Linked DNA regions of Homo sapiens: region 2 is linked to region 1. Evidence: promoter capture Hi-C in 16 types of primary human blood cells and fetal thymus (Javierre and others, 2016). All regions are on one chromosome and are shown on one strand. The core of a region is centred on a gene start or on the middle of the fragment in contact, and the rest is flanking DNA. Distances in the headings are between cores, read along the strand shown. Region 1 holds the start of B3GNT7 (UDP-GlcNAc:betaGal beta-1,3-N-acetylglucosaminyltransferase 7). Region 2 overlaps ARMC9 (armadillo repeat containing 9).

Region 1 (4,323 bases), core at 1,265-3,764:
TCGGCCCCCACCCGCGGACTGCCGCTCGCGGCCCCAGGTCTGGCGGATGGCCTCGCGGCGGTCGTGCTGCGTGATGACCGACTTGACAACCACCAGCAGGTAGACATCGCCCCTGCACTTCTCCGGGTGGTTCAGCAGCATGGGGAAGTAGCGGCAGTGGCGGTAGAAGAGAAACTGCCGGAACTGCGGCTCCAGGACCTGGAACCAGGGCTGGTGGGTCAAGTTGATATTGGCTGAGCAGTTAGTGGTGGTCACGTCCCAGGCCTGGGGCCCCTGAGAGGCCATGGGCGTGGGCGCAGCCACATCTTTCGGGTTCTTCCAGAAGTTGTTGGGGTTCACCAGCTGTCCATTTGGCTTCTGGGCCTTCTGTGGCTCCAGGGTGGGTGGCGGAGGCTCCTGCAGAAACTGACCAGGGGTGAGACTGCGTTGGAACACCGTCACGGCCACGAGCAGGGCCAGGGCCAGGCACAGACTCCGGTAGACGGTTTTCTTCCTGTGGGGGAGAGCGGACAGTACAGAGGAGAGAGAAAAGATGAGCCCAGGGCTCTCCTGGCGCCCCCCTTGGGAGGCTGGGTGGTCCCAGACGGGCAAGTGGACCTGGGCACAGGCTCAGTCCCGGAGTCCCTAAGCTGTCAGGGTAGGGTCCCGCTTCCTCTCCCACCCTGCCCTTTCTTTCTCCCACCCTGCCCTCTCCTCAAGGAGCACTGTGGAATCAGGCCCTGACGCTTACAAGCTGAATGAGTGGTTTACAACCACTCTGAGCCACGATTTCTTCTTCCCCCAAATGGGGCTAAAACACAGGATTGGAGTGCTATATAAAGTACCAGGCAGCGGGTGCACAGTTAGGGGAATGCTGTCACCTTAACAGGAGGGCCTCAGGTGGAAACCTCTGCCCTGTTCCCCACGCCTGGAACCCCAATGCCTTTCATTTCCCTGCGGTGTACCTACCCACAGCAGTAGGTATCGGTATCATTAGGTGACTCAGAGCCAGAGTCATTGAGAGGGCACCCTCTGATCCTCTGTGCCGCCCGGGAGCTCCATCACATGTGGGGCACATTGGAGAGTGGCTCGAGCTTGGGACCTGAGGAAGACTGGCCCTCCTCCCCCTTCTCCAGTCTGTCTCACCCAACAAAGAGCAGCCCTCATGGTTGATGGAGGCCCAAGGATGCAGTGAGCACCTCTAGCATGGCACTGCCCCTCACCCCTACCTTAACATCCCCAGCTCATAACACCCCATTAGAAGACATGAGGCTACAGCTCTACTCCCTGGGAGGGGGCACATTTGCAGCTCCAGCCCTTGAGGGACCCTTCTTGCCCAGAGACCCCCCCACCCCAACCCCGGTCCACACCCATTTCGGAAGCAGAAATTAGAGCTCTCTGCCAGGAGTGCTGGTCGTCCCAAGCCCTGGGGCCTGAGCCCCTGTCCTGAAGGACCTCCTCTCTTCATCTCACCCTCCGGGGGCTGCCAGGACACCTGCCCCACCCTCCCCAGTGGAGACCTGGGGGCTGAGAGCTCTGGGGACAGCAGAGTGGCCTTCCAGGGCCAGCCTAGCAGAGAGATGGCGCTGACCTCCAAGGGGGAGGAGCAGGGTGCCAGGAGAGACAGGCAGCCCGTGGAGACGCCTGGGTTGCCCTGAGGGCTGGTCCGGTTGCAGGTCCAGGCCCCAGGGTGAATGCAGGCTGAGCCCCATAGAGCGACATTTTCCCCATAGGGTCCCCAGGTTGCTGGGGCATGTGGTTGGAGGAAGACAGGGGCACCTTAGGTGCAGGCTGGGGGGTGTGACCCAAGGTCCAGCTCTCCGGGGAGGAAACGGAGGGCTCCGGATCCGGCCCTGCCAGCCCTAGGGGTTCCAGGGAAGCCGCCCACCGAGGCCGGGACGGGGGAGGTCGGGGGGTGCACCGGGAAGGCGGCGAGGCCCTGGGCTGCGGGCGCTCCACCTGCCGGGTCCGCTCCATTCGTAGGGAAAGCCCGGGAGGGGCGGAGAGGGGCCGGGCGGGCGGCGGTCCGAGGTCCCGCGGAAGGAAGCCCCGAGAGGAGGAGAGTGGCCCGGACGCAGGGGGCCCTCAGGGGTCTGGAAGGGAGAGGGGACCCAGCTGCCGGCAAGACCTGGGGTCCCAGCCGCCAGGGTCCTGGAGCGGTGTCCAGGGCCGCGGGGCCGGGGAGCTGAGCGCGGCGCCCCGAGACCCCTCGACGTCCCCCACGGGTCCGGGGCCGCGTACCGCGAACATCTCCCGCCGCCGCCGCCGCGCCCGCCCGCCCATCCGCCCCCGGGAAACTGAGGCCGGCGCGGCGCGCGCGGGGGCATCTCCTATCCCGGGAGTCCCGGCGCCCGTCTGTGGCCACGGAGGAGGGGGAGCCCCGGGCCCACGCCCCCGCCCAGGCCCCCGACGGCCCCCAGCCCCACTCACCACAGCGACATGGCGGCCCGGGCCGGAGCGGCGGAGGGGCGAGCGGCTCGCAGCTCTGGGCGCCACGGCTCGGGCCGGCGGGACGGCGGGCGGGTGGGGACGGAGACCGGGCCGCGCCCCCGCCGCGACTTTCCTCTTCCCGGCCGCGGGAGGAGGGGCCGGCAGGGGCGGTGGCCCAGGTGCCTTAACCCCTTCGGCGCCCAGGGCCCGCCCCGCCGCCGCCTGGCGGGGACCACCCCATTTCTCCGAGACGGCCCCTAGGCTCCCCAAGCGCGCCTAGTAGACAGTGCATGGCCGAGGCGGGGCTTCGGAACCCACGGGGGTCACCTCCAATCCCGGGGACGCCTGTCCCTGGCGGAGCCTCCCGGGGCGGGGGGAGGGCGGTCGCCGGTCCCTCCTGTACTTGTGCGAAACCTGAACACCCGGTCCCCTCCAAGACCCTGGGGCACCCCAAGGCCCAGCCATTTCCCTCTGGCCCCATTCGGACTTGTCTTTGGGGCCAGAGGCAGACAGGGTGTCCTTTTCTCCCTCTGCTACCTTCTGCCCCTGCACCTTTCCCCTGACCAGACGGACCCCTTGCCCAGCTGTTGGGCTACCTAGGGCCAGGAGCAAAGCCAGCCACTAGGGAAAGAGGCCGTATGAGACTGGGCTCCATGTCAGGACTCGCCCAGGCCTGTGGCTCTGGAAGCTTTTTTTGTGCCCCCACCATGTCCCTCTCTTCACCTCTGGGGTTCCTCCCACCTCTGAGGGCTCCCCACCACCAAGGGAAGGCCTGTTGGCCCAGCCCTATCTCCTTTCTTTTTTCACTTATCACTCAAAACCCTTTTTGTCCTCAAGCCTTTATTAGTCTGCTTGTGCACATCAGGCCTAGCGGCTCTGGGGAGTGGGCTGACAGAGAACACGGAGAGGGCTTGGTCCAGCCAGGTGACTTCCAGAATCCTCCAGCAGGGAGAGCCATCGCTGGTCCTGTTGTTGCTCAGGTTGTTCTGGTCTTGTTCCGGGTTGAGGTTTCGGTGCTTAGCATCCAGCAGGACCTCCAAAAGGCCCACAGAATTGAAACGGAAGCACGTTGTGGTCCAATCATAACAGCTAACGTCCACTGAGCAGCTACAATATGCCAAACCTGGTTCTCGGCCCATGCATGACTGGCTCACTTAATCCTAGAGACATACGCTATTATTCCCACCTTACAGGGGAGGAAACGGGGGTGCAGAGGGGAACTCCCAGCCAGCTCAGAGAACAGCGAGCCCAGAGTTAGTAAGCACATCCAGGAGGCCTGCATGGCCTGAAGGCTGGCTCTGAACCCTTCCTGCCTGGTCTGAAGGCTGGCTCTGAGCCCTTCCTCAACCTTTTTTCCTTTCCCAGGGACAGCAGTGACATGGAGCTACTTTCCTGCCCAGCACACAGGGAGGCTAGGAGTCCTCAGCTGGATCTTAAGCCCTCGAGGCCAGGGTGAGGAGCCCCTTCTGCCCTATCCTTAAGGTTCAAGGGCCCTTTGGAGGGGGAGGAGAAACTTAAGGTACCATAGAATGTTCTGGAATGTTGTAAGTGCCAATTAGGGAATGTGAAGGGCCTTTCAGGCAGAATTTCAGAGGAGTATCTTGGGGCTGATGTCCTTTGTAATGGCCCTCCAAAAGTTCCAGAGCAGGGGAGGGGCTGACCTGCAGCCCAAAGCCCCTGTTGGCCTGGCTGCCTGCCACTGAGGGCCACCCGCAGATTCTGCAGCTCCACGGCTCCCTTCATCCCAGTGTAGCCTTGGCCACCGGTTCCCGCAGGGCACCAAGCATTTTGCTCCACTGCCCAGCCTTCCGAGTTCCCCACTTCACCCTGCAAGTGTGGCCCTGGCTTCCCTGGCTCCACACAGGTGCCCTGCTGAGAGCTGCCTCCCTGGCTTCAGCACTGACCTCTCACCCG
Region 2 (4,288 bases), core at 1-2,500, 170 kb after region 1:
TAGATGATTTACCTTTGTTACTTTGTCCATTCTCCTTCTGGGATGAAAAAGAAGTTCAGGAAAACAGGCATTCAGGGAACGGTACTTGGGGTATCGGACATCCTGTGGCCAATGTGAGAAAGCACCTCAGCATGATGAAACAGAATTCTCGGAGCCGGGAGGGCCAGCTCCAACTGTTGCTGTAAATAGCTAAGCAACTTCTCCATACTGGCCTGACCCACTCCCATTTCAGAAGAAGGCAAGTCCTCTTCTCCCCATTTCAATTATCACTGTCTGAATTCAAGTCTTGCACTATTTCAACAGCCTCCTATCCCCTTCCTATCCCCTTCCAAAGGCCTTCCCCACTGCTACCAAGCCAACTAAAAATGCAAATCTGATTTTATACATAATTCAACTCTAACTTCAATTCAAAGCTTTATCCTAAGGAAATTGATATTGAGGTGAAAACAGCATAGCACAGTATTGCTAAGACCACAGACTCTGGAGCCAGACTGCCTGGGTTCAAATCTCAGTTCCCACACGTCTGGCTGCATGACTGAAGACAGTTACTTAACATGTTTCTTTTCCCTTAATTTGTCTTAAACTTTTCCTTAGTATTTTGGTAATAGCTTTATTCACGTACTGTATAATTCACCTATTTAAAGTGTACCTTTCAGGCCAGTGTGGTGGCTCACGCCTGTAATCCCAGCAATTTGGGAGGCTGAGGCGGGTGGATTACCTGAGATCAGGAGTTTGAGACCAGCCTGGCCAACATGGCAAAACCCTGTCTCTGCTAAAAATGCAAAAATCAGCCAGGTTTGGTAGTGGGTGCCTGTAATCCCAGTTACTTGGGAGGCTGAGGCAGGAGAATCGCTTGAACCTGGGAGGCGGAGGTTGCAGTGAGCCAAGATCACGCCATTTCACTCCAGCATGGGTGACAAGAGCAAAATTCTGACTCAATCAATCAATCAATCATCAATCAATGTGTACATTTCAATGGTTTTCAGTATTTTCAGAGTTATGCAACCATCACTACAATCAATTTTAGAACATTTTCATCATCCTCCAAAAGAAACCCTGTATTCACTGGCAGTTACTCCCATTTTCCCTGCTCTCCCCAGCCCCTGGCAACCACTAATATACTTTCTGTCTCTCCAGATTTGCCTCTTTTGGACATTTTATGAATAGAGTCATATAATACCTGGTCCCTGCCACTGGCTTCTTTCAGTTAGCATAATGCTTTCAAGGATCATTCATGTTACAGCATGAATCAGTGCTTCATTCCTTTTTATGGCTGGATGATATCAAACGATATTCCATCATTTGGATAACACCACAGTTTGTTTATCCATTCATAAGATGATAGACATTTGAGTTGTTTGCATTTTTTTGGCTATTATGAATAATGTTACTATGAACATTTGTGTACAGGTTGTTTTGTGGACATATGTATGTTTCATTTCTCTTGGGTATATAGCTAGGGTATATAGCTCTTGGGTGTACAGCCTGGACCAATTCCTGGGTCATGTGGTAACTCTACGTTTAAACCTCTGAGGGAACTTAACCTGCTTTTGAAGGCTATTTAATGATATGGGAAGATGTTCTCTTCCTTTGATAAAAATGCATAGAAATATACACACACATACATGTACCTACCTTTATTACAATTTGGGTGTATGTCTGTATTAAAAACCTTTCTGTACTTTCCAAATTTTCTATAAGGAATATAGTTGATTTTATAATCAGGAAGTAAAAAGTTATTTTTTGCAAATACAACTGTTATTCTCTTACTTAAAATGCTTCAAAGGCTCCTTATTCCTTATAGGACTTGGCATAAACCTTTATGACCTAGGCCCTGCCTAGTCTCTGAGTTTGTCTATGCCAATACTCTGCTCCAGTAATATTAAATTATTTCAGTTTCCCAGGCACTGTCTCAGTGCCTTTGCACAGGCTGTTCCCTCTACCTGTAATTCCCATCCCTCCTCTGTTTGCCTCACAGACTCCTATTTTATTGTTCAAAGCTCCAGTTTGGCTAAGAGAATTACATCTTGGCCTTTTCTTTATATCCCTAAATCCTAGAACAATATTTGACTCATAGTAGAAGCTTAATGTATTGAACTGAACTACAAGTATTTTCATGTAACAAGGAAAATATTAGAATGTTATTTATAGTTACCTGCTATATTTCAGCATATGCTTCAAAGCATGTGGAACAGGATGAAAGGTGACAAGTACTTAAAAATTCTAATGCCAACAGCTAACAGTTATCAAGCACTTACTATATACTGGACTGTTTCATACAAGTTATATGTATTAACTCAATCTTCATACTCTTCCTATAAAATAGGTACTATGATCTTTTTTTATTCTTATTTTTTTGAGACAGGGTCTCACTATGTTGCCCAGGCTGAAGTTCAATGGCAGAATACACAGCTCAATGCAGCCTCAACTTCCTGGGCTCAGGTGATTCGCCCACCTGTCTCCCCCAGATAGCTGGGACTATAGTCATATGGATGCTACCATGCTCAGCTAACTTTTTGTACTTTTTGCAGAGATGGGGTTTCGCCATGTTGCCCACTCTGGGCTCAAACTCCTGGGCTCAAGTGATCCTCCCGCCTTAGCCTCCCAAAGTGCTGGGATTACAGGCGTGAGCCACGGGGCCCAGTCAGGTACTGTTTTGAGTATACTAATATATTTTTAATATAACTAATATAATTTACCATGTAAATCATTTTGATTAGATTCTTAACATATTGGCACCCATAATTATTAAGCTGAGCTACTCTGGGCACACTGCCTATGGGGTAGCCCTGTTCCACAAGGAGCAGTATCAAGAAAAAAAAAAATTAAGCTGAGAAATGCTTTTTTAAAGCGTATTCAAATAATTATAAGTCAAGTTGGAAAAGTTCTAGTTTCACTGAAAATCACTGTATATGGAACTCTAGGAAGGAAAAGGTTTGGATATGCAAACATCGTGGTATGTAGGCAAACAGAAGAATTTAAACAAAAGCCTTAAGGATATAAAGGCAGAGACGAGAGCTGTAGATCAGTCCGTTCGGCTCAGGCCAGGCTAAGGAATTTGAATACAGGCAACAGGGAAGGCTTAGGAAGCTCAAGTAGAAATGTGGCATGGAGTCCTAGTGACAAATAAAACCTCAATTAGGTCAAGAAAGTCAAATGCTTTGGAGTTAGAAAGGAAGCAGAAGGTATTACGCAGCAAAGTAGCCTAAATTTTTCATGAAATTAAACTAAACAGTGACCAATTTTACCATTCAAAACATTATGTTCTTGTTATGAAATAACTTTGGATACATTTTTATTCCAAGTAAAAGGAGATACTTGTCTTTAAAAACTAATAACCTTTGGGAAATTAGTCTTCCATGGGTTGGGTGACCTAACGTTCTGCTCTTTCTGAAACAGGCTCTATTTACACCTGTCACCCTGGTACTTTGTCCAGTTAGTGCCCCTTTTTACTTTCAAAAGTGTCCCAGTTTGAACTGGACTGTGGTGATACTGCACAGCTCTGTACGTTTGCCAAAAAGCATTAAATTGTACACTTACCATGGGTAGATTTTATGGTATGTAAATTTACACCTCAATAAAGTTATTTAAAAAGAAGTCCCAATTTGAATGACAAGTTAGATGGTCACCCGATCCATATGCCATGGCCTGAAGGGCTTAAAAGTGGTTAAGTGACATTCTGCAAAGGGACAATTATCCCAAGGAATTCTTTTACAAGAAGGTAAACTTTCTTTTCTACCAAGACAACTTCTAGCCACGTGACATCAAAATAAGACCTTGCCAAAAAGAAAGTCTCAGAGATCCAATGATATAGAAGTTGATCTCTATAGGCCCTGCCATTAATGATTCATTGACCTTGTAAATATGAAAGCAACACTATTAATTATCCCGATTTAATGAGGCAACCTCAATAAACCTAAGCCAGCGTGCAACTCTAAATAAAATCTGCTCTAAAACCATAGGTGGTCTCTATTTGCTTCAAAAGGATACATATATTGTTAAAAGCTTTGGCGTGTTGCTGGCTTTAGATATTAAAGCTAGAAACTTTATCAACTTCAACTTTAACTCTGGAGTCCAGGAATCCTAAAGAAAAAAGGGAACAAAAATACAAACATTAGATTACTAAGTACCAATAGCATCATCAAGTTGAGGTCATTAGGCTAAAAAACCCTGCACAGTGATTGAAACCAAAACCAAAATGCCAGTGACGTGAGGCTGTGAAAAACAGGTCTTAGGACATCTGACCAACTCATTTACAGAAGATTCAAGTGCCCACAGTAGGAAGAAA

Evidence for each region. The method cuts DNA at HindIII sites, captures the fragments that hold promoters and counts their contacts. A CHiCAGO score of 5 or more calls a contact.
Region 2: a contact is called between a fragment that was not itself captured here and the fragment with the promoter of B3GNT7 in region 1, in 2 of 17 cell types (erythroblasts and M2 macrophages). The highest score is 5.9, in erythroblasts.

Annotation. Positions count from the first base shown.
Region 1 is chr2:231,393,901-231,398,223 of GRCh38, reverse strand. It overlaps B3GNT7 (UDP-GlcNAc:betaGal beta-1,3-N-acetylglucosaminyltransferase 7), which reads right to left and starts at 2,514. Exons shown (of 2, transcript NM_145236.3): 1 at 2,410-2,514; 2 at 1-493. The coding sequence starts at 2,420. RefSeq lists enhancers at 903-972, 1-1,114, 3,383-3,432, 3,728-4,309, 4,310-4,323 and a silencer at 2,363-2,832. The HindIII fragment of the contact is 8,411 bases long and covers 1-3,099 here.
Region 2 is chr2:231,222,523-231,226,810 of GRCh38, reverse strand. ARMC9 (armadillo repeat containing 9) reads right to left here. Exons shown (of 25, transcript NM_001352754.2): 6 at 3,991-4,083; 7 at 13-37. Among named protein-coding and RNA genes, the nearest start is that of ARMC9, 26 kb to the right of the region's middle. RefSeq lists an enhancer at 4,072-4,288. The HindIII fragment of the contact is 1,670 bases long and covers 416-2,085 here.